Linked DNA regions of Homo sapiens: regions 1, 2 and 4 are each linked to region 3. Evidence: promoter capture Hi-C in 16 types of primary human blood cells and fetal thymus (Javierre and others, 2016). All regions are on one chromosome and are shown on one strand. Each heading gives the region's core, a stretch centred on a gene start or on the middle of the fragment in contact. The rest is flanking DNA. Distances are from core to core; before and after follow the strand shown.

Region 1 (7,042 bases), core at 618-3,117, 1.0 Mb before region 3:
ACGGATTTGCATTCACCAGCCTCCCTGGTTTGGTTTCCTTCCTGCATCACTCCCTCTGTCATCAGATCTGGTTCTCACCCAGCTTCATCTCCAAGTCTGGCTCAGGCTTGTTCTTCTCTATCTCTCTTCCTTTCTCCTTTCTGCTCTTAGACTCATAAGAAACCTTCCTTATAATCTGAGGAAACAGCCTGTGCATCTTGGAGACTGAGTTTCTTTTGGGATCCCCAGGTTCACACCAGCCTTTTCTCCCATAGTCATCCCGCCCTCATTTCATTAAGGTACCAGTAGCACCAGCTGGGAAGGGTAACTTGGCTTGCGGTCTGCAAACTTATTCTGGCCCTGCAAAAGGCCAAATAGTAAATACTTTAAGTTTTGTGGTGCATTGCGCTATTGGGGTGCCAAGACAATATGTAAATGAATGGGCATAGCTGTGTTCCAATAAAACTTTATTTACAAACACAGGTGGTTGGCGAGATTTGGCCCATAGGTTGTCATTTGTTGATCCTTGGGATAGAGGATAAAAGATCTGGTTTTGGGGTTTGCAGACCTGAGGTCTCCCCGCAGCCCACTTTTTTTTTTTTTTTACTTCCTTGCTGTGTTACCTTGGGCAAGTTGGTGCAGCTCTCTGAGCCCCGTTTCTTTTCTGTGGAATGAGATAATTATAGCACCTGCCGCCTGGGCTTTTGCTAAGTTTAAATGAAACCATGCAGTGGATTGCACATAGTCAGTGAGCAAACTGGTAGCTGTTATTTTATGACGAATGACTTTAAACCTTCTGAGGAAAGCAACCCCCCTTCCCTCATTTGGGGGTAAGGGAAGCTGATGTGCCAGTGTTCTGATATTTTGTGGTTCATTATGCTGTTAAGATTTCCATTCTTTTCAAGTTAATGCACTTGCATTTTAATGACTTAGGATGCAGAATCTGCCTCCTTTGGGATGGAACCAGCTGGCTGGCCTTTTGTGAGGGTGATAGTTGGTAAAACTCTGGACACCCCCATGATCCCTTTGAGTCTAACCTCTGGTTCCCTTTCCTGGCTCCAGAAGGACTGACTCAGTGGGTCTAGCATGACCACCAGTGATCCTCTGGTTGAGAGCTGATCACAAGTGGCCAATTAATCTATTACTTGCAGATACATTTTCCATTAGCAGTGGCGGAATCAATTAGTCAGCGTAATGAACTTGAGTCTGGGCAAACAGGAAGGAGAGGTTAACCCCTTGGTTTCCAAAGGAGGCTGGGATGGCAAGGGAGCGTGGAGAAGATCTGGAGAGAAATCGAGAGGCTGGATAGGGACAGAGGTTTGGGAACCACAGTCAAGCTTCCAGGTAGTAAGATGAGGTAGGTTGGACCCAAAGAGCTCTAGCTTAGAGCCAGGAAAAAATGGCTTCTCTAGTCATGTGGACATGACAGAGTCATTTTGAGCTCAGTTTCCTCCTCTGCAAATGGGGATCATAATTGTACACACCTCATAGGATTGTTGTGAGGAACAAATAAGACAAGTTGTATGAAATACATAGCCCCATGTTGGGAGCGGAAATTCTCAGTGAATGCTAATCTTTCTGCTACCCCTTTTTTTCTGCCTCACCACAAGCCACGAAGAGGTGAAAAAGAGACTTCTTGACTTAGAGCTAAAAATAGCAGAAACTTCTTACTAAAATTACTCTAGCTCAGATCCACATTCAAATGTGTTACAGAGGTCAGGACTCCAACAGGTGCCTTTACTGCAGGCCTTGTCAGGGACTTAAACTTCTGACATGTATCGTGACGCTCCACAAAGGATTGGAGCAAATTTCCCAGACGTATTAGAATGAAACAACATTCTTTTCCCATCTCAGAGCATTGCACAGGACTGTGAGTTTTATTGTTAAAATGGTAGGAAACGATGCATTCCCCAAATGCATCGTTTGGGGACCTCTGGTCCCCAAAGGTGGACCAGATAGAGTCCACCTTCTCCCAAAGCCCTCCCTGTCTATGCAAGCAACTTTCTCACTCTTATCAGTGTTGTTATATCACGTTGGTGCAAAAGAAATTGCAGTTCTTGCCATTACTTTCCATGGCAAAAACCGCAATTACTTTTGCACCAACATAATAGACTTGAATTAGGGTCTAGTTACCTGGTGCAGTAAGACCAGATATCCACACGGAGGTCTTGCAGTGGTGGAAAGAAAGGTGTTTATTTACCAGGTGCCAAGCAAGGAGGACCAGACGGCTAACGCTTATATCCTGACCTCCCGATGGCTTGCAGGTAAGTGTTTTTAAACGCAGGGGTAAATGTCGGGAGAAGCTATAGGCAAGATTGTAAATCCATACATGGAGGTTACACCTTGGTCTTGGCCAAAAAGGGCAGGATACCTTGAAGCAGAGGCTTACAGGTCATAGGTAGATTCAAAGACTATCTGATTTGTAACTGGTTAAGGAAGAGAAGCTTTGTTTAAAATTTGGGGTCAGCAGAGAAGAACATTAACTGGCTTTGGGGTTTGACTCTCTCCAGACTCCTCAGGAAGAAATTTAGAACAAAAAATGGGGGTCAGAGTTCAGCCATCAGCTCCCCCTTATCTGAGGTTTAGGTGACAGCAGAGCTGTTCAGTGGGGGTCATTGGTGGGGGTTCAGGGTTCTGGAAAACAACTCAGGGGCATATGTTAAGATGTTACTTTTAGTTTCTATAGGGGAATCAAACATCTGACTAACTTCCTTGGTTCCTGTCTTAGCCTTGTTACTATTACCCTCTTGCTTATCAAGCTGCTTTTCTTTTCTTTTTTTAAGACAGGATCTCACTCTGTCATCCAGGCTGGAGTGCAGTGGTACTGTCTCAGCTCACTGCAACTTCCACTTCCTGGGTTCAAGCAATTCTCCCACCTCAGCCTCCCGAGTAGCTGGGATTACAGGTGCCCGCCACCACGCCCAGCTAGCTTTTGTATTTTTTATAGAGATGGGGTTTCACCATGTTGGCCAGGCTGCTCTTGAACTCCTGGCCTCAACTGATCCACCCGCCTCGGCCTCCCAAAGTGCTGGGATTACAGGCATGAGCCACCACATCCAGCCTCAAATTACTTATTTACCTCTTAGGGCTAGCTAGGTGCCTGGAATTTCCCTTGAAGGAACTCGGAATTTTCCTCTATTTCCATTCTTGGTGGCAGGGGCATGCAGACCGCCAAAAGGGGGTCCTGCTCCGTCTCAGTGTGTTCCTGTCACAGACTGAAGGCCACACTGAGAAACTGAGTGTAGTGAGCCAGACGTGGTGAGAAACGAAATCACAGAGGACATGGGGGCACAGGGCCTTGGAGACTCTCACAGGTACTCTGGACGTCATACAAACAGGCCATCAGAGGTTTCTGTGCAGGGGAAGGAGATACTAGGTCTTAAACAGGCCCCTCTGCTCATCCACGTTATAGTGTACATCAGAACTCCACTCTTTTTAAAAAATTTTTTAAATTTTTTATTTTTTTGTTTTTTGAGATGGAGCTTCACTCTTGTTGCCCAGGCTGGAGTGCAATGATACAATCTCGGCTCACTGCAACCTCTGCCTCCTGGGTTCAAGCGATTCTCCTGCCTCAGCCTCCCTACTAACTGGGATTACAGGCATTCACCACCACACCTGGCTAATTTTGTATTTTTAGTAGAGATGGGGTTTTGCTATGTTGGTCAGGGTGGTCTTGAACTCCTGACCTCAGGTCATCCGCCCACCTCAGCCTCCCAAAGTCCTGGGATTACAGGCATAAGCCACCGCGCCTGGCCTTTAATTTTTTTTTAAGTTCTGGGTACATGTGCAGGGTGTGCAGACTCGTTGCATAGGTAAACGTGTGCCATGGTGGTTTGCTGCACCTATCAACTCATCACCTAGGTATTAAGCCCAGCATGCGTTAGTTCTTTTCCCTAATGCTCTCCCCCACCCCGCCCTTCCCCAACAGGCCGCGGGAAATGTTGTTCTCCTCCCTGTGCCCATGTGTTCTCATTGTTCAGCTCCCACGTATAAGTGAGAACATGTAGTGTTTCGTTTTCTGTTCCTGCATTATTTTGCTGAGGATAATGGCTTCCTCTTTATCTAGTCTACCATTGATGGGCATTTGGGTTGATTTCATGTCTTTGCTATGTAAGTAGTGCTGCAATGAACATACGCGTGCATGTATCTTTATAATAGAATGATTTATATTCCTTTTTGTATATATTCAGTAATGGCATTGCTGGATCAAATGGTATTTCCGGTTCTAAATTTTTGAGGAATTGCCACACTGTCTTCCACAATGGTTGAACTAATTTACCTTCCCACCAACAGTGTAAAAGCGTTCCTATTTCTCCGCAACCTCACCAGCATCTGTTGTTTCTTGACTTTTGAATACATGCAGCCAAACATACGAAAAATAGCTCAACATCACTGATCATTAGAGAAATGCAAATCAAAACCACAACGAGATACCATCTCATGCCAGTCAGAATGGTGAGAACTCCTCTCCTTTTTAAGACTGAGTAATGTCCCCTTGTGTGGGTATACCACAGTCTGTTCATCCCTTCACTCACTGACGGACATGTGGGTTGTTTCCAGCTTTCGGCCGTTGTGAATAGTGCTGCTGTGAACATGGGTGTACACATGTTTGTTTGAGTCCCTGTTTTCAGTTCTTTGGGGTATATACCTAGAAGTGGGATTGCTGGGTCATGTGAATTTCACTTCCATTAATAATAATAATAAAAGCTTCCTCTGGCTATAGGGGCCACAAAGAGGAGGCCCAACCAGCACACCCCTGAGCAAGCTGGCATTAAAATCCCATCTCCCAGTTGCCTAACTGGAAGTCACCCTGAAAGGAGCAAACACACTCCCTGGGGCAGGAACTTTCTAGTCTTGGCTGAAATGTGCTCCATCCCAAGTGCCCATCCACCCTCATCCTCCAGACACTGGCAGGCAGCCGCCCCGAGAGGATTGGATGTTCCCCGTGCTGCGGTGGCAGTAGGAACAGGCCGTTCATCAGTGTCTCGGGGTCTGGAAAGCCAGTCTGCACCTCCGTGTCACCGCCACCCCCTGCCAGGGAGTGTGTGTGGTGTATGTATTAGCAGGTAAACTGCCCCCCATAATGGAGATGGATGGGAGCCCAATTTTGTAACAGAGAACCTTTCATTAAGAAAACCACTGCCTTTGGATGATCTAGAGGCACTCACAGGCTGGCCCCAGCCTGGGACTTAATTATCTTACCACTAATGAGCTGCAGTTACCAGCTTGTTGGGGCATCTCAGCAACAACAACCGCCTGGCCTTGGGCTCCTTTTCCCCACTGTGGGCCTCGGGTGACATGGGTAGAGATTGTAGAGGATGCGCCAGCTGGGAAGGTCACCATGAGAATCACTTCCTAAGAATGGTCTCTGTCTTCCTGAAGTTCAACAGAGGTGTCTGCAGCAGGAGAGAGGAAAGTAGACAGGTGGAAGTACTTTCTGATGAGGTGGCCTGGAAAATGCTTACATGGGGGCCCTGAGCCTTAACTATGTCTGTGTCCATCTCTAGGCCCTAGTATCCTCCTAGGGTGGAACCACGACGAGAGAGGCCTGGGTTAGGTGAGAAAGGCAGGGATAGAAATATATTATATGCAAGAGTGTCTGTTATACAGAAGGACTTGTTCTCCTCCCAGCTGTTTGCCTGATTGATTCCTGCTGGTCTCAGGGGACGTGCTGCTTCCCCAGGGAGCTCTGCCGAGACTTTACTCTCCACAGTAGAAAACCTCCCTCATCTCTCCCTGGCACGTCTCCCTGTTTATATCCTTTCCAGCTCATCCTGTCTATGATTACCTTGTTTATTAATGCATTTAATTGTTTACTGTCTGGCTCCCGAGTTTCTGTCCTCTTCATACCGGCGGGGTCCTCATCTCTTGCAAACTCTCTACCCTTAGTGCCTAGAAACATGCTTGGTACATTGTTGATGCTCAATACATATTTGTGGAATGAAAGAATGAATGAATGAACTGTTGATTATTTCTGAGATATAGATGTATTAATAGCTCAGAGTAGCATAGTGCCCTTTTTAAAGTTTTTTTTTAATTGTGGTAAATTATACATAACATAACCTTTACCATTTGAATGTGTAGAGATTAAAGAGGATGTGGAGGCTGGGAGGATCATCATGAGGGCCACTTTCTAAGAATAGCCTCTCTCTCCCTGAAGATCAAAAGAGGTGACTGCAGCAGGAGAGAGGAAAGTTAGACAGGGGTAAGTACTTTCTGATGGGAGGACAAAGCCATCACCAGTGTCCATCCATAGAGTTTTTTCATCTTCCCCAATGGATATTCTATACCTGTTAAACTCTCACTCCCCATTTCCCCTGCCCCAGCTCCTAGTAACTTCTATTCTACTTTCTGTCTCTATAAATATGACTCCTCTAGGGACCTCCTATAAGTGGAATCATGCAATGCAAAAGTAACTTACTGAGCCTTCTAGTCTGGCGAAGCACCCAGCATTTTGCCCTGCGTGGAGTCAATCCGTCATTTTGTGCCTGATGTCTCTTACTTGGCATGATGTCATCCAGGTTCACTTGGTTTAGCATAGGTCGGTACTTTACTCCTTTTTATGGCAGAGTAATATTCCACTGTATGGATAAACCACATTGGGTTTATCCATTCATCCACTGCACAGTGCACTTCTGAGAGAAGACGGGTAGATGGTGCAAGGTGGGGAATTATATATTTCTGTTTTGGAAACTTCAGAGTAAGAGAGAGCTTTCCCATCCAGTCACGTCTCGTGCCTAGTGCTATGTCCTTTGTGTGCTGGTGACACTAACTTGCTTTACACCTCCATGCCTTTCCCTATGCTGTTTCCTGTGCTTGAAGCACCCTTCCCACTGGCCCATTGTTGGCCTGACAAGTCTCATGTCGGCTTCAGGGTGAAAACCTCAATGAAAGTGGAAATTACATCTGTTTTATTCACCTCTGTATTTCCAGATCATTAGATGCCATACATACAGATAAGCATGCATGAGTGAATAAGTCATTCCAAGCTACACTCCTCCAGAGGGTCCTCCTTGACTGTACCTCATGCTATGGAGCTAATGCTGGCTGTTTTCGAGTCAGC
Region 2 (5,994 bases), core at 2,900-5,399, 1.1 Mb before region 3:
CTTATGATTGTCCATTCACTGATAAGCAGAACTTTGGTTCCCATTTGGGTATAATTTTGGGGTTGTATTGCAGGGAGTCTCAGCAGAAGAGTGAGTGGGTAGTCATCAAATCCTTTCCTAAACTTTATCCCTCATTCTTGAGGAATGCTCAGGCCAGTTTCTCACTTGCATTCCTGTTCTCCTGTGGGGATGGGGAGCTTTCCAGATCCTAGAGTCTCAGGAGGGACCCAGATGGTCTGCTGAGCTGTGTGTGATTTCCTCCCCTAATGGCCTTTGCCCAACCCCGGTTGGGTTTCTTCTCCCCACAGGCTGCCCTTTTCCCTCCATCCCACTTTTCCTGCAGCACATTCTCTGCCTGGAAGCTTGTTGGCCATGCTCAGATGGGATTCCCTCACACGTGCACCCAATCCATCCTCAAGTCCACTCTGCCTCATTAAAGGCTGGGTATTTACATGAGCTGCTGCTGTGTTTCTAGCACGCCCCCTGTGCTTGGACCCCAAGCTCGTCCGGAAGACCCCCTAAGATGCAGTGGCTCTCTGCCTTCTCTTGGCTGCCCCCTCTTCCCCAGCCTTCCCCAGGTCGTCTCCTGCTTGCCCTTGAGTCTCCTGGGCTTGGGAAGGGGAAAGCACCTGGCACATAATTGCTGCTTAATAAACGAATCCATCCTCATTAGGGCTTGATTGGTCATTAGCCTCATTATCCAGCAGCAGAGGGCTGGGGAAGTTTTCAGAATGCCGGTGCAGAGGGAGACCAGTCGGGGCGTGGACTCTAATCTCTATTTTGTGGACAGGACAACATCCAGAGGTGTCCAGAAAGAAGGTGGCCTTGACCAGAATTCCTCAGCCTTGGCTGCACATGAGAACCAGTGAGGGAGCCCTAAAAACGCTGATGCCCAGGCTCCACCCAGACCTATAGGTGCAGAACCTCTAGGGGAGGGCCCAGCCATCGCGCTTTGAAAAATCTCCTCAGGTAATTTTAATGTGCAGCCAAAAAGGCTTGAAACTTCATTTTTAATCTCTTGGGTGAAGGAAAATGTGGTTTGGCCATTGGAGCATTGCCTTACATGGATACTTAATAAATTGCAACTTCCCTGAAATCTTGGATCTTCTTCTCCTCCTTCTTCTCCTTCCCCTTCCCCTTCTCCCTCTCCCTCTTCCCCTCTTCCTCCTCCTCCTCCTTCTTCTTCTCCTCCTTCCCCTTCCCCTCCTCCTTGTTCTCCTCCTTCTCCTTCCCCCTCTCCCTCTCCCTCCCACTCCCCACCTCCCCTCCCCTCCCCCTCCCTCCTCCTCCTCTTCTTCTTCTTCCTCTTCCTCTTCTTCTTCTGTTCCTTCTTGCTTCTTTCTTCTTCTTGAGGCAGGGTCTCGCTCTGTTGCCCAGTCTGGTCTCAAACCATCCTCCTGCCTCTCTTCATTTTGGTATTCCATTAGCTAACGCAGGTAACAATCTCATCACCAGCCTCCTGTGTCTCATTGATATGTGCAGCGTCTCCTGTTAACTTCGAAACTCCCCATGGTCGCCATATTCATGGGTGGCTTGTAGGCATCTCTGCTTAATGTCTTGCTTTAAATTGAGTTTTAACCCACTTCTTATTCTTCCTTAGTCCATTTCTAAACTCTAATCTTATAGAAGTGTGGGTTTGATATTTTACTCATATTTTTCTCTAATATGCAAAAACATAAATATATAATAAAAATTGAAAATAGAGTCATGTCTCTATTAATGCAAAATCACTTGGCCGACTACGAGTTATGCTTATACTAAACTTTTGGAAGCACTATTTTACAGTTCTCATTTTTTTCAGAAATTAAATAATAAATGTGAAGTTTAAAAAATTGTACAGCTCATTCATGCATGAGATATTGTTATTCCTTCATTACATACTTCTGACAAACTTTGAAGTATTAAAAGTAGCAGTATGTTTCCAGGTAATCTCTTGATAGAGCCCCTGAAGGGTCTATTTTTGTGTGACTTTTTTTGAGATGGTTCAGGATCAGTTTTACCCCCTAAAACTCCATTTATGGGAAACCAGATTTCTTATGAAAAATCTTAAAAATATTAATATCCTTAGATCCATTCAATGCATTTAAATAAATGTATAAGAAGAAAAAGAAACAATTCAGAAGAAAGATAATACTTTACATACAAAATGTCCATGATAGTGTCATATACAAATTTGAGAAACATTAAACTACCTAAACGTCCAATAACATGAGAATGGCTAGTTTAAACACATATTTTCAGTTTAATAAAAGCTGTATTTTATAAGGTCAGAAACCCTAGAAGATTCTAATCCTTCAAGGATTTTGATTTTTACATCTCAACCACTTAGAACAGGGCTTGGCACAAATTGATTCCTCAAAAATACTGGTAGAGGTAAAATAATTCATCACAATGATAGTTACCAAGTTTATAATAACATAGAAAACCACTTTATTTGAAAAAAAAGCCAGAGTAAAATATAAAACCTAAAACATTGTCATCTCTATTAAAATGCTCACTAGCTTTGTATGTGCAAAAATGAGGTGGATTAGTGAAACGTACAGTGTATCCAGGCTACACAAGATTCTGTAGCCACTAATATGAAGTTCACAAGTAACATTCATGGCACAAGAAGTACTATAGCTAATTCCAATTTGTCTGTGTATGTATTACATATGTAATTACAGCTATACATTATGATTTATTAATAATTATAATTATATGTTGTTTATATATTTTATAATACAATATTTAAAATAATATAAATATGTTTATATTTCTATTAGTTATTATAAATTATTTCTATATATTTTATAATACAAATATTTAAAATATAAATATTTTTATATATTATGCACATTTAATGTTCAATTATATACTTACATATTTTATATATGTATATGTATAATATATGTGTATGAGTATATATATAAGACACACACACACAAGACTGGAACTACCCCAAAATATTAGCAGTTGTAAGTAGTGAGACTAGAATAGGTTTTTCTCTTCCCTCCATATTTCACCTTTTTCTATTTTCCAATTTCTTTCACATGATAAGCATGTATTACTTTTATCCAGACAAAAGAAGAAGCATGAGGTGTGTTTGAAACACGGGCAGTGGGGGAGCCAGGGAGAGGCGGTGGCCTGGAGGGACGCCGAAGGAGGAAGGGCTGAGATCACATCTCATCAGCTGGTGCTGGATTGATTGTGCCCAAGTCCTCTGGCCTTTCTCCACAGGAAGTCGTGGCAGGGCTGGTGGGGAAGGACGTGCATTCTCTGGACCAGGCAATGTTTCTTTGCGGGGACAGCTTCTGCTGGAACAGCAGCCCAGGGGCCCCGCTGAACTCTCCTGGAGGAATGCCTCCTTTCCCTAATTTGCTGGGTCCCTCCAGTCGCTAAGAATGATCAGCAGTAATTAAAACTAAGCTAATAACCTCCTCACTCTTGACGTTTCTGTGGGGTTTTTGTTCACCATTATCTACATATAGATTAAAAATTGTAATTGGACTGAAGATCGGGTTAGAAAAATCAACCACCCTCCAACTTGTCGTTTGCCAGGGACTGACACTTTGAAATTTTATTTAATCTGAGAAAATGGAGTTGAACTCTGGCACCCTGGGAGGGGGGAAAAAAAACCCCAGCTTTTATCTTAAGGACCAGTGCTAGCTAAGAAAATGTTTATGCTCCTGGTGGGCAAGACTGGGGTCTAGATATACACTGGTGCCAGTGGGGTGCTGGGAGCCGCTGTAGGGTACAGCAGTCCTGAGGTATGGAGCGGGGGCATCCACAGAGACAGCCACAGAAGGGGAAAAGATGGAACACCATATAAAGAAGGTTTAGGGAGAGCACGGCCACCTCCCGGAGAGGATGCTGTGTCATTTCATAAAGACTTGGGCTGTGTAAGCCCACTGAGTCCCATGTGCTGGCAGAGTGATGTTATTGGTTTATAATTCTGTGGTTTCAGGCCTCTGCAATGTTGTGGCTAAACAGCTCCATCTTATATTTTTCTGGTTTCCATAGGCCTTATATTTATTTTATTTTTTTCTTTTTGAGACTAGGGTCTTGCTATGTTGCCCAGGCTGGGCTTGAATTTTTGGACTCAAGCACTCTTTCTTCTTTAGCCTCCCAAGTAGCTGGGGCTACAGGCTCTTGCCACCATACCCAGCTTTGGTTCCCATAGTTCTCTGCAATACTGAAGCACTTGCCTCCACTTTCCTGGGTCTATCAGACAGTGTTTCTCTATCTCTAGGAGTCTGTGCTCCTGGGAGTCTATGGTGTGAGGAGTCTAAAAGTCAGTGATGATTATATTGACTTTAAAAGGTGGAGAACTGTCAGACTTGCCCAGCTGCTTCTACTATGGCGTCATTAATTTGTCTAAATCGAAACCCTTAAACTGATATTAATTCTTAGCCCGAGTCCCCAAGGTGATGGGCCAGATGAAGAAGATTTCTTTCCAATACACAATGTGGCCATGTCATGCCCCTGCTTAATGTACTTCACTGGGGTCTCATGGCCTCATTGGATTGAGCCCAGCCTCCTGATGATGGCTTCAAAGCTGTTCCAGGTTTGCCTTGTGGATCTCCCTCTTTCCTGACTTAGCCTCTGAATCTTCGCCGCTCACTCTCCCCCAACAAATGCTCACTCTCCCTTCCTTCCTCTCTTCTCCTTCTCTCTCCCCCCGCTCCCGACTACACGCAGTAGTTCCCTTACTGCGTGTAGTCGGGAACAGTTCTACTTACTGTTCCCTCTGCCTAGAATTACCCACTCTCCACTCCATTCCCCCTCCTCATGGCAATTTGCCTGCTTTCATCCACCTAATTTCTATTAATCTATCAGTTTTCATGTTGGATTCACCTTCTCTGCAGAGTATTTGTTGTCTTCCCAAGTCTTGTTTTCTGCTCCCTCAGCCCCCCATGGTGGCTCTGTGACAACTCTGGTATGACTCTGCCCACTTCCCCCACCAGCATCTCCTTGAAGGCAAGAATGCTTTCTTGTTCACTATTATATCTCCCAGCCCATGATGCAATATTGAATGAATGAAAGAATGAGTGAATCTGTGTGCCAAAGGCAGAAAACTCACAACTTTTTACTGTTGGAATGATACGTACTCATTTATTTACTCACCTCAGAAGGATTTGTTGACTGTCTACTTTGTGCCATGTGCCGTGCCGAGCCCTGGTGGGCAAGAGAAATAAAAACAAGTCGGTGCTGTTTCTGTGGTGTATGGGGAAAACAGACCAGAAGATTGATTGGGATTAGATTTGGGGGAAGAACATTCTAGGCGAGAAGAAACATTTGTGAAAAGACCTTGAGGGGCCAGGGGCAGTGGCTCACGCCTATAATCCCAGCACTTTGGGGGGCCGAGGCAGGGGCGGATCATTTGAGGTCAGGAGTTTGAGACCAGACTGGCCAACATGGTGAAACCCTGTCTTTATTAAAATTACAAACATTAACCAGGCGTTGCCGCACTCACTTGTAATCCCAGCTACTCGGGAGGCTGAGGCATGAGAATCGCTTGAACCCGGGAGATGGAGGTTGCACTGAGCCGAGACTCCAGCCTGGGCGACAGAGTGAGACCTCGTCTCAAAAAAAAAAAAAAAGAAAGAAAGAAAGAAAAGGAAAGGAAAGAAAGAAAGAAAGAAAAGACCTTGAAGAAGGAGAGGGAGAGACACAGTCTTGAAACAGAAAGGCGCCGTGGGACTGGGGCATTGAAGGATAGGAAGAGGATCCAAAATGAGCTCAGAGTTCCGCGCAGCACCCAGATCAGGAAGACCTTACAGGGTTTCCAGCATGGAGCGACAGGATTAACCACGCACTGTGAAAAGATTGTTAAATGACTAAGTCCGTGTGTAAGCTACAGGCAACCCGTGTCTCTTTATTCTGAGACTAATCATTCTTATCCTTCCTGCTTGTCACTTTAATCTTTCCAACACACATTCACCTCCTGACGTGGACTGTTGGCTTTCATCTGCCTAGAGAGCATTCCCATTGCCATTCTCCTAGAAATAGACC
Region 3 (6,034 bases), core at 1,182-3,681:
ATTGCGCGTGCTGGCTGGGCAGCATGGGGCCTCCGTCCTGCAGGCCGCCGCTGGGCGTGCCCGCCTCGCCCTGCTGGGGCCGAGGGAGCGCAGGCGGGCACGAATTTTGTCGGACTAGAAGCCCGGGTGGCGGCGGCGGCTGCTGCTGTGGCGGCTGCTGCGGGGGCTGCTGCTGAGGGGGTGGCGGGGCCTGCTGGGGAGGCTGCATTAACGGGTGCCTGGAGCCCACTGAGGGCTCCAGACCCACAGGCATCTTTCTGGCCCCACTGAACCTCTCAAAGAACACACCATGCTGCTGCTGCTGCTGCTGGGGCTGCTGCTGCTGCTGGGGCTGCTGCTGCGGTGGCTGGGCGTGCATTTTGGACAAGCCCACCATGCCCGCAGCTCTGGGCATGGCCGAGGCGCCCGGGAAAGCGCCCCCAGGAACCTGGCGACCCGCTGCATAATGAGGCAGCTGCCCTTCGGAGTCAGAGGGCGAAAACATGTCAAAATGTCCCGAGGGCGCCTCGCCCGGGTAATTGTATTCCAGCGAGTCGACGGCTCCTTGGTTCGTCACCCTCCGTGGCTCCAGACTGTGGGAATCGGAGCCGCTGGAGGACGGCAGGCCGTGGAAGGAGGCGGCTCGGTTAGGGCTCTGGTCCAGCGGCAGGCATGGGGCCGGCACGGCGTGGCTGGAGGCACCTGAACTGTGGAAGTCCGGGAGGTTCCCCGGTCGCTGCGGGCCGAAGCTCTCAGGCCCCTGGCTCTCCGCCATGTGCTCATAGCCCTCGGCGAAGGGCGGCTGGCTGCCCAGGCCTCCGGCTGCGCCGCCGTAGCCGAGCAGGCGACCCCCGTGCAGGCACGAGGCCCCGGGGTCCGGGCCACCGAAGTTGCCCCCAAAGTGGGGGTGATGCTGGTGGGGATGATGACTTCCCGGGTGGCCGTGGTGAGGCTGCTGGCCGCCAAAGAAGCCGTGCACAGGCTGCGCTTGCAGCCCCCCTGCGTGCAACTCCGAGTGGCCGCGCGCGTGGAAGCCGTAGGGCTCCATGTTCATGCCCAAGATCGGGGGTTCGCCCAGCGCGCTCATAGCAGGATCCACAGGGCCAGGGGGCCCCCCAGTGTGGAAAGCCGGGGCCTTAAAGTGGGTGTTCATGCTCAGTCCGGTCTCGTTAAAGTTCCTCTCGCCCTGGCCAGCGTTCCTGCTGTTGACCTGGGGCTCGAATTGGTCCAGCCCAAACATACTTGGCGGGGGGCAGAGGGGGATCAATAGGGCATGACAGCCGGCTCTCCGCGGCGCGCCTCCGGCCAGCTACTCGTTCCAGCCCAGGATTGGGCGCTCCGGGACGCTCAGCACCGCGGGGGCTCAGCGCGCACCTCCACCCCGCCTGATGTGAGGGACGGGGGGCGGGGTATTAGCTCCTCTCCTGAAGCTCCGATTCTGCCCGGGGAGGGCCTCTCACATCTTGCGAGGCCGCGGGGCCTCTAGGAGCCGTGTTGGGGGGCCCATGCCCCGGGCGGTTGTCACAGCCGCGGGTGGGTCTGCGGGGAGGGGACGAAGCCGCGGATGAACGGAGACAAAAAGTTAAGTGGGGGGAATGGGGAGGGAAGGGGGTTGGGAGAGCAGAGCGATCACCTTCTCAAGTCCGATTGGGTCTGCTGGGGAGCCCTCAGGACGCCGCCCGCAGCCTCCCGGAGTCCGTGGCAGAGCTGCTAAGGGCAGGGGAGGGAGACCCTTCAAAGCCGCGGCTGGCGCCGGGCACCGACAGAGCGGTCCCTCCCCCCGCCCCCCGGAGTCCCCGCGCCCCGCAGCCCGAGCCTCCACCGAGCACGATCCGCTCGCACAATCCCCGTAGGCTCCGGGCGAGCGGCTGCTGCTTCTTCAGCGGGTCGGAGGACTGGAGGCTCCGCTCGGCATCGCCGGTGCCGGCCCCCGAGCCGAGGACGCAGAGGGGCTGCGAGGCGGCAGGCGCCGGGGGCTGGAGCCGAGGGTCGGGGAAAGGCGCGGCTCCTCTGCTCGGCAGCGGGTGCGCTGCGTTCGGCGCGCAGCTTCGCGGCCACGTCCGCCGCCTGCCGCTTCTGTTCTCCGCCGTTGGGTGTCTGAGTTCGCCGGAGTCTCCGCGCACCGTTGCAGGCGCGGGAGGGCAGCGAGACGAGGGGTTGGGTCGCTCCAAGGCTCCGGTTCCCTGCCTCCGCGCTGAGGTGCTTCGCGAGTCCCTCTCGGACCTGAGGGAGGGGGGCGTACGCGGGTCGGGGGGCCACGCCGGGCGAGCAGGCTAAGGCGTTCCCGCTGCGCTCTCAGAGCCCGGAATGGGGGGAGGGGGGCGCGGGGGCAGCTCTGGGGGGTCTGCGCACCCCTCTCCCGACTAGCGGGGGGGCTCTGCGTGGGGCGTTCCGAGGGTCTCGGCTCCCCTCTCTGTGTCTGCCTCTCGCCCAGCGCCGGGAGAAGCAGCAACAAGTTTTGCATTTCAGCAATCAATTTCAGCCATTACATTTGCACCAATCAGCGCCGCCCAAGTTCCGGGCTCGGGGCGGGGCTCGCTCTTAAGGTGGTCCGGGGTCCTGGCTGCCGAAGCCCCCGCCACGAACCCGCACTACCCCAGCTCTGGGGTCCCCTGCGCCCGCCTCTCCTCGGGGTCCGGCGTCAGTGCGCTGGGGGCGCGCCCCGGCCTCCGGGCGCATCGAGCTGGAGAGGGTGCAGGCGGAGGAGAATGGCGGGAGCTTGGCTTTGTTCACCCCCTTCCCATTCACACTGTTCCCAACTCCCCACCCCCAACTGGAGCGAGACCCACCGGGTGGGCAGGGGGCGGGGAGGTGGGCGGTGAGCGGTACGGGGCGCTCAGACAATGAGGTCGCCAGGCAAAGACCCTAGACTCGCCACGGAAAGTCGCTAAGTGTCTACTGCACTTCGGCTCCGGGGTGAACACTCCGTTCTCCGCTAGCGGCGCCCAAGTTAGCCGGCCCTGGGATTTTCTTGGAGGGTAAAGCAGACGGGGAACCTCGAAGTTAGGGTTCTCCTCGAGAGACCTGGGCGCTTGCTCACTCCTCCGTCACTAGGGCGTTCACAATTGTTCCCCTTCCCCACTGCCTGGGGTTCCCGGTTCTCACCGGCCGGCGTGGGCTCCAAGGAGTCACAGTCACTCAGCCACTTTATGGGGGAGCACATCGGTTGAGCCCAGTAACCGGAGCGACTTGCGAGGCGGCTGGGAACCCCGAGAAGACACGCACGAAGAGGGCGCACCCGCCGGGCCGCACACCTTGCCCTGGGCCACCCGGTCCAAGACCCAGACCCTCTGCGGGTGCGAAGTTGGCCTCCTTAAGAGATCAATTAAACTGAAGAGGCCGAGGAATGGAATTGGGCTGTGATACTAAAATCAATAGGAGTAATTTAATATCTGCCCTGCTCTTTATGAAATATTTATCCCAATAATCTTAGTTAAAATGTTTAGATCGTCCTGATCCCCACAGAGGCTGAAATCTATCTTGCAATTAGAAGTTGGAAGTTAGAGGTGATGGAGGATAGAGGTGTTTATTCTGTGCGCCTGTGTGCGTGTGCTCGCGCCTGCGTGCGTGTGTTTGTGCATGCGTGTGTGTGTGTGTGTGTGTTCCTCCCTAAAGTGTGTGTAGGGAAGGAGGGGGGAGAAGGCCTTTAATTTTCCTTGCCATAAAATAGCACGAGGCGATTTTGCTAGCAGATTCGCATTCTTAGGAGAAGGGCGAAAAAAGAACTTTCTTTGAAGTGCCCCTGATATCGCTATTAAATCTAAATAAAATTAAGCGTGGTGTATGAAAATGCCTTTCCCCCCCCACAAAAGAAAGTGTTTATCGCCCGAGTCTGTCTAGCGTTTGCTAAATTACGCATGAAATCTGAAATGAAATAAACGTTATAATAAAACCAACCCCTGAGCCCTTTTTATTTAAAAACCTTAGATTAAGCACTCCACCGTCGCGGGCAGGAGTTAAAAAGTTACCATGTCGTACGCGCAGATTCATTGCTCCCCTGAGTTGCGGCTAGGAAGGCAGTGCTAAGTATGCCAGAACCGACATGCCGGGGGTGGGGGGAAATGGGCTCAACTTTGGGGTAGCGGCAGAATTCCTAAGAAATTGCCCCCCGCCCAAAAAAAATTTTAATTAAAAATAAACAAACAAGAAAAAACAACAACTTTAAAACTCAGCCAGAGCAAGCTCAGATCCAAGACCTTTCCCGGGGCCTTCCTGTTGTGGAAGTTTACAGACATATATATTTTTTCTTTTTTGAAATTAAAAATGAAAATTACCCCCATCAAAAATGGGGTCCATAAATAAGCATAGGGAATAAGTATTTGTACAGGGCGGTGGAGTTTTTAAAGGATTTTTCTGCAGGATCAGGTTGTTGGTCTGTGATTAAATATTGATTTTGTGTAATTAGTTTTCATGTGAACTATCCTCTTGCTGATAGCTTAGAGGTTTCAGAACTAGAAAAGAAATGGAATTGGACATGGAAATTATTACTTAGCAAAGTGACAGGGAAGTGAGAGCCAGAGAAAAGACTGAGGCTTTGCTGATTTAGGCACAAAGAAATAAAGGCTTGGGTAGGCCCTCCAGTGACACCCCCCCCCCGCCCGCCCCGGGGCCTAGGACCCTGGGGCTCTGGGGCTCCCGAGACAGAGCAGGGGGGATCTTGAACCTCCTGGACAAAAAGCGGGAGGCAATAGGAAAACCTGGTTGTGAGGAAGAGGCCCCCACATGGGCAAAGGCCTGGGCATAGTCCAAGATACTGGGTCACACACTCAGTCTGCTCTCGACTATGGGTGTCTCCTGAGGCACCTATGAGCCGCCTGTGTTTCTGTGTCTGGAGGAAATAGGGAAAAGTGGGGACCTGTCTGGAGCCTGGGGGTGGGCCAGGAGAGTGGGAAGAATGGCTCACAGGCCTGTCGTCTGGGGAGACCCGGATGGGGGCGTCTGCAGAGCTGAGGCATGACTTCACACAGGGCTGGGTGGGGGTCTCCAGCACACCTGGGCAGGTTTCCTGTGGAATAATTCCGTGTGCTCCAGGGAGGGGGGGTGTGGGAGTATTTTTCTGGGGCTGTTTCCAAGAGTTAGCTCCACAAGGTGTGTGAGTGGCTGAAAGAAGGGAGTGTTTGGACCTGGTGAAGTTTCTGTTCAGGATGTGTGTCTCGGTCACCTTTCTTTAACACTGCAAATGTTGTGCGGGTGTGTGGCACACGTCTGCATTTTGTGCCTTTGCTTGTATGCGGGTGGCGGGGCATCTGCGTGTGTTTCTGTCCATGCCTGCGTCGGCGTTCGTGCATGGATCTTTGGGGGTCTTGGTGCATGTTCTCTGTCTGTCCCCCAACCCCGCATTTCTGTGTGTGTGAGCCACTGCGTTTGTACCTGTGTGTGTGCAGCTGCCTCACCCCTTGCATGCCTGTATCTCTGCTCCAGTGTATCTGTTTTTTCTGCGAGTGTGAGGGCGTGTGCCTCACAGCCTGTGCCCATCTGTGCCCGTGTATGCGCCGGCGTGTGCGCCTCCACAGTGTGGGCACCCCTGCGTGTGCCTGTGTGTGCTTTCGCCCGCAAGGTCCCGCAGTGTTTCTTTGGAACAGACACATTGCCCCCTAGCGCTCAGATGAATTCAAAGTCCCCGCAGGCGCAGAGCCGGGAGCAGTAGGAGCCTCAGGGCCCTCCACCCGCCAGGGCTTTCTCCATCCTCCTCCCTCCCCAGGTCCCCCTCCGGGGGCACTGAGTGTGCTGGCAACGGCCAGAGGAGGCCCTCTGGGCAAGGGAAGGAGGAGACACAGCTGGATGGGGCCCCAGAGCTGGAGAGGGATGTTTTAAGCTGGTGACAAGTGGGGAACTGCCTGGGATGGCCCCCAGAACACTCACCGCTGATATGGAGAGCCTGGCACACCTCAGCTAGCCCAGGAGCCTCAGCCTGCAGCCCACCAGTGAACTCTCACTCTATAGAAACACAAAGCAACCCACACCCAATACCCGTCACCCAGGAGACACACAGCCTTCGTGCCTGCCCCGTTGGCCCCCAACACCACCAGCACAGACACATGTACACACTTACCTC
Region 4 (6,026 bases), core at 2,679-5,178, 1.0 Mb before region 3:
CATGATGGTGACAGCCTTGATGCCAGGAGAGGAGCTAGCAACTGAACCACAGAGACATTCCCAGCAGTCAACAGGAGCCACAGATTGATGAGCTAAAGAGTTGTGCAAACAGTGTTTGTTTGTTTTGTTTGGAGAGGGAAGTCCGTGTGTTTAGAGCTCAGCTTGTCTCCCTCCCTCATGTTACAGGGGAAGAATCGGAGGTTCCGAGTGGGGAGTGACTCTCGCAAGGCCACGTGGCCAGCCACGGCCAAGAGCGACACCAGAAGGTGATAGTTCTACTTGCTTCTGAGTCCTTAGAGCGCATAGCCTAGTCTGCAGTTACAAACATGCTTGTTCAAAACACAACAGCCGTTGCTGATGACAATAGAAGTCGTTTGCCTGGTTTCGTTCATCTGCATCTCTAGGGGTTAGTAAATTTGCAGCCAATTTTCAAGGATTTCAAATTGAATTTCTAGGTAGCTTCTACTGAAACGTGGAGAAGTGATTCCTGGTTCCCATGTTTATCCTGTAAAGGGCTGGGCGGAATATTCATTCATCTGCTGAGTGTTTACTGACCATGAATTTTTTGTTGGGCCCCGAGATGAGGAGCTTTAAAAAAGACAGCCTCTCTTGGAATCCAAAAATGCTGTTGCTGCTTCAGCCTCATAAAGTTCAGTGTGCAGTGGGAAAGAGAAGCTGACAAATGGATTGTCAGAATCCAGGTTGCAGAGTGGAGAGGGCTTGGTTAATGGGTCCAAACATGCAGTTAAATAGAAAAAATAAGTTCTAGTGTTCGATAGCACAGTAGGGGGACTAGTCTTAACAATAACTTATTGTATATTTCAAAATAGCTGGAAGAGAAGGTTGAAATGCTCCCAACACTAATGCTCCTAACAAGAAATGATAAATGGTGGAGGCGATGGATACCCCAATATCCCAATTACTCTGATTTGATCATTATACATTGTAGGCATACATCAGACTATCACTTGTGCCCCATAAATATGTACTATTATTATGAGTCGATAAAAAAGAATCCAAGTAGCATGGTTGGAGCATGCCAGGAAGGCTGTGGGGGTCTCAAGGAAGTGTCTGACCTGCCTGGAGGTCAGGGATGGCTTCGTGAAAGAGATGATGCCTCAGCTGAGTCTTGAAAGACAAGATGGAATTCCCCACACGGGAGAGAGGAGCGGATGGCTGGGAAAAGCTGTTAAATGGAAAGCCATTAAATGTCCCTGGCCATGAGGCTGGAAGCAGGGGGAGTAGACAGGGAGAGATTAGCAAAGCCTTGATGTCATGGGAAGGATCTTGAGCTTTATCTAGAAGGTAACAGGTAGCTACAGAAGAGTTTAGAGCAGAAGAGTGACGTAACATTTGCCTTTTTTGAGGGATCCCTCTGCCTACCATGAGGGGAAGAACTGGGAGCAGAGGCAGAGGCCAGTGAGGAGATGGCTGCAATTGTACAAGTGGGATACCTTTAATATTAATAATTATTACAATATATCATGGTGTACCAGACACTGTTCTAAGAATCTTACATGTTCTAGTTCCTTCATCCCCACGTGTTAAAGTGCATATAAAACTCTTAACTTGGGGCCTGGCATAGGGTAAGTATCCAACAAATTATCCACACAGTATTAGCAATCTACATGAACTGTTCGTCCCATTTTGCAGATGAGGATTGGGGTTCACAGTGTTTGAGTAACTTACCGTATTGAAGGCTGTGATGCACAGCCTAGACTCATCTAATGGAAGAAAGGATTTTTTTTCTCTCTCTTTCTTTCTTTTTAGAGACAGGGTCTTGTTCTGTCACCCAGACTGAAGTGCAGTAGTGCAATCATAGCTCATCGCAGCCTTGAACTCCTGGCTTCAAGTGATCCTCCTGCTTCAGCCTCCCAAGTAGGTAGGGCTGCAGTGTGAGCCACTGCGCCTGGCTGGAAGGATTTATTTATAACTGCTGAGAGAATTGCCCTCTTCAGGGCTGCCCCAGCGCAGGAAAACTGCATCACCCAAGTTCACTCCCTTCTGGGGTCAACCCATATCCAATGACTGATAGATGCAAGAGGATAAAGGCCTGACCTCCTTATCCCAACTTGAGACAGCTCCAAAGGGCCAACCAGTTTCAGAGCGCCCCATAGGATTGGCTGAGACCTTTGTTGAACCTTCACCATGGCTCAACTTCTCCCTGTTCCCAACTCTGCTTCTTTTTCCTCTTCTCCAAAGGTGTTGATCCAAGAACACTTCCTACTAAACATGCTGCCCGCTAAACTCTGCCCCAGCATCTGCTTCCCAGGAACCAGTCTGTGACACTTTCCCAAGGTAGTACAGCCAGTAATCAGCAGAGCCAGGAAACAAACCTTGACTTTTTTAGAGACAGGGTCTCACTCTGTTGCCCAGTCTGGAATAATGTGGTGGTGTGATCAAAGCTCACTGCAATCTCAAACTCCTGGGCTCAAGTGATTCTCCCACCTCAGCATCCCAAGTAACTGAGACTACAGGCATGCACCACCATGCCTGGCTAATTCTAAATTTTGTTTTTGTAGAGACAGGGTCTCACTATGTTACTCAGGCTGGTCTTGAACTCCAGGCTGTAAGTGCTCCTCCCGCTTTGACCTCCCCAAACCTCCACTCATTTGATTGCAAAATCTCCATTCTGCCTTCATGCCACTCTATGTTTACCAAGTCTGTTGACTTTCTGAACTTTGGTTCCCTTGTTTGTAAAGTGAGAGTGTATCAGTCAGCTTAGTCCAGGTTATGCTGAGGTAACAAACATCTCCAAAATTATCTATGGCTTCCAAAGATAGTGAGAGGTGAAGCTGGCTGGGCTTCTGGGTCAGGTGGGGACTTGGAGAACTTTTCTGTCTAGCTAAAGGATTGTAAATGCACCAGTCAGCACTCTGTGTCTAGCTAAAGGTTTGTAAACACACCAATCAGCGCTCTGTCAAAAGTGACCAATCAGCACTCTGTAAACGGACCAATCAGCATTCTGTAAAATGGACCAATCAGCAGGATGTGGGTGGGGCCAAATAAGGGAATAAAAGCAGGCCACCCGAGCCCGCACCGGCAACCAGCTTGGGTCCCCTCCGACGGTGTGGAAGCTTTGTTCCTTGGCTCCTCACAGAAAATTCTGCTGCTGCACACCTGGGGGTTGGCACTACCTTCATGAGCTGTAACACTCGCCACGAAGGTCTGCGGCTTCACTCCTGAAGCCACTGAGACCACGAGCCCACCTGGAGGAACCAGCAACTCCAGAAGAGCCGCCTTTATGAACTGTAACTCTTACCACGAGGGTTTGCGGCTTCATTCTTGAAGTCAGCGAGACCAAGAACCCACCGGAAGGAACGAATTCCGGACACAAGAGGGTGACCAAAACTTGTTTTGGTTTGCCCAGGACTTTCTTAGGTTTAGCACTAGAATCCTGCATTCCAGGAAATCTCTCAGTCTCAGGCACCCCAAAACAATTTACTTGGGACTGTCAGTTTTAGAACTGAAAGTCATGCATCTCAGGAACCCCCGCAGACCTTCAAAAACCAGGAAGGTTAGTCACCCTATAAAAAGCAAAGGTTTATTTTTCATTCAAGTTACATGTTCATCACTCACACTTTTATCATTACGTGATGAAAAGTGGCTGATGCTTTGCTTAAAATACTTTTTACCCATAACTCAGGTCAGTGGACATTGCTAGTCCGAAGGCAGTTGAGAAAAGAGATTCAGAGAAGCATGCACGATCTCTTGCAGATTCTACCCAGAAGTGACACAAGTCACCCCTGCTCTGATTTCACTGGCTAGAACAGATCACATGACCAAGCTGCGAGGAATGGGGCAGGATATTTGCTGGGGATGGGCGGGTACGGGGGATATTCAGGGAGGGAATCTGGGGTACTTGGACGCTGCTTGGAGGAAGCATTCTAAAACATCTTGGGTGGCAGCTAAATGCTTCTTTTCGGAGCGCCCTGCATTTTGCAATGCTCTGCCATGCTAATGATTTGAAACGGTGGCTAATCTGACAAGCCAATTGGAGTCCCCGTGATTGCATTTGACTCTCTGACTAATGACAAGAGATGAACTCTCTTTTCTTAGTGCAACTTACGGTTGGATAGACTTGGGCCATCGCCCGGTCCCAATGTTCAAAATGTTGCCTTGTAAATTGTCTAATAAAGTAATAAAGAAAGGGACTTGCTAAATGATTTGTCTTTTAACCGTTGTAATGGGATTTTTTTTGGGTAACATTGTTTTATGTTAGAATGCAAAAATTATCACACGTAATTAGAATCATTTCAATTCAAGTCTCTGCCAGGCCTCTGACATATACTGCGACTTGTGCCACGTCGAGCAAGTCAGCTCGTAAAACCTAATCAACTACAATTTAAAAATGCAGTCAGATTTGGAGTGGTGCGGCAGAGACGAGTAGGGAAGGCTGCCCAAGCTGGCTTTGCCTTGGAGAGTGAAGAAAGAAAGAGGGAAGAAGGGGAAAGAAGGCAAGAAGACAAAAGCCACCAGTGTGTCTATTCAGCTTCATTAGGGGACCGATGGGAGGCAGGTGGTTGCTTTCTGCTGGGGTGGCCTCGGACCCGACTGGCCTTGGGTCAACCTTGATGCTCTTAATTATCCCCCCTTCAGCACCTCTCAGATCTGACATTTGTGTCACCGGGTTTCATTTCCTTCAGGCCGACCAGGTCTGTGTGTCTGCTTAATATTTAATCGTAATCATGCAGACACATGTATGTATCATTTATCTCCAAAAGCTGTAGTATAAATGTTTAACCAGAAAAGCACACGGCAACTCATGTCATCTCACAGACAAGCTTTTGCAGGGTGCAAGGACAGGCAGGCTGCCTCCTTCTGGGATAAGGGTATTTATTGAGAAATATGTCCCTGATTCCCAAAATGTCCAGGTCAGGCCTTGGAGGGTGGGAGAGGGGGTTACCAAGCTGTCGCTTTGTTCCATGGGCTTGAATGAGAAGCTGCTTTCTTCGACCAGAGCTCCAAGTTGGAGAATGAAGATGACCTCCTGCTAGGTGTTGGTGGGAGCCCAGGCCCTGTAATTGTCCCATGATATCCCCGTGCACTGATGACAACCCAATTGTCCTCACTGTGGCCTAGAATTTAGTTCTCTGCAGGAGGGGCTGTCTGCCCAGGCTGGGATGTGTGGGCGGCATCGGAAGATCACGTTGGAACAAGTGACGTGTGGTGGAATGATGACACCGTAAGGAGGAAGTGATGCCATCAGGGAATGGTAGTATGGCTCATGAATATTCTGGGCACTTGTACCCACAGCCAGAGCCGGGCCCGGCTCCTGATTCATCAATATTACGAATCGGCACGGTGGTGAGCAGGCTGTCAGCAACTTTAATTTTTGCTTCAAGTCCAAGGAATTACAATGGAAGTATTTCCCAGGGACTCCCAGCGAGAACGTGGGGGCAGTGCCTTCTGCAGTCAGAGGGGGTGGAACTGGATCTTGGGAGCTCTGCGTTCAAGACCCAGGTGCCCCACACTCAAGTGCGGGGTATCCTTAGGCAAGGCCTGACCCTCCCAGGGAGAGCAAGAGCATGTGAGCACCTAGGATGTGCCGGAAACCACATTGCAGCAATTCTGCAGAGGAGAGATATTGGCCCCATTGCACAGGTGAGGAAGACCGAGGCTCAGAGCAGGGTGGGTTGTCTAGCAAAAGGGTGATGGTGCTGAGGCTGGAGCCCCGTTTGAGTTTGCAGGCATTGGTTTCCTTACCTGCCAAGTGCATGTGATGATGGCTGCCTTGGGGGTTGTTAGGAGGACAAAATGAGGGACTGAGCTTGTGGGTGCTTTGGAGGTTATCTTGAGTCCTTGGGGGAAGGGCATTCAGAATCTTGCTATCAGCATTGCTCACATCAGCTCAGCCTGCTGAGGGCTGCAGAGACTTTTTTCCATTATGTGTCATTTCATCTTCTTAATGGCAGGGTGAGGTAGGTGTGAGCATGAACATGAGGTCCATGCTATAGGAGAGGAGAGTGAAGCTTGAGAAGCAGAATGCCTTGCCCTTCCAAGGCTCCTCAGTGTAGAAGTGGCAA

Evidence for each region. The method cuts DNA at HindIII sites, captures the fragments that hold promoters and counts their contacts. A CHiCAGO score of 5 or more calls a contact.
Region 1: a contact is called between a fragment that was not itself captured here and the fragment with the promoter of MN1 in region 3, in 1 of 17 cell types (M0 macrophages). The highest score is 5.8, in M0 macrophages.
Region 2: a contact is called between a fragment that was not itself captured here and the fragment with the promoter of MN1 in region 3, in 1 of 17 cell types (M0 macrophages). The highest score is 5.2, in M0 macrophages.
Region 4: a fragment that was not itself captured here is called in contact with the fragment with the promoter of MN1 in region 3 in 2 of 17 cell types (M0 macrophages and M1 macrophages); the score reaches 7.5 in M0 macrophages.

The regions. Positions count from the first base shown.
Region 1 is chr22:26,784,525-26,791,566 of GRCh38, forward strand. No RefSeq gene overlaps it. Among named protein-coding and RNA genes, the nearest start is that of MIATNB, 120 kb to the left of the region's middle. RefSeq lists an enhancer at 1-99. The HindIII fragment of the contact is 1,107 bases long and covers 1,315-2,421 here.
Region 2 is chr22:26,737,272-26,743,265 of GRCh38, forward strand. All of the region lies in intron 2 of MIATNB (MIAT neighbor), which reads left to right. Among named protein-coding and RNA genes, the nearest start is that of MIATNB, 67 kb to the left of the region's middle. The HindIII fragment of the contact is 7,579 bases long and covers 361-5,994 here.
Region 3 is chr22:27,799,325-27,805,358 of GRCh38, forward strand. It overlaps MN1 (MN1 proto-oncogene, transcriptional regulator), which reads right to left and starts at 2,432. Exons shown (of 2, transcript NM_002430.3): 1 at 1-2,432. The coding sequence starts at 1,219. RefSeq lists enhancers at 1-498, 4,841-5,405, 5,406-5,969. The HindIII fragment of the contact is 19,591 bases long and covers 1-6,034 here.
Region 4 is chr22:26,763,988-26,770,013 of GRCh38, forward strand. All of the region lies in intron 2 of MIATNB (MIAT neighbor), which reads left to right. Among named protein-coding and RNA genes, the nearest start is that of MIATNB, 94 kb to the left of the region's middle. The HindIII fragment of the contact is 1,707 bases long and covers 3,076-4,782 here.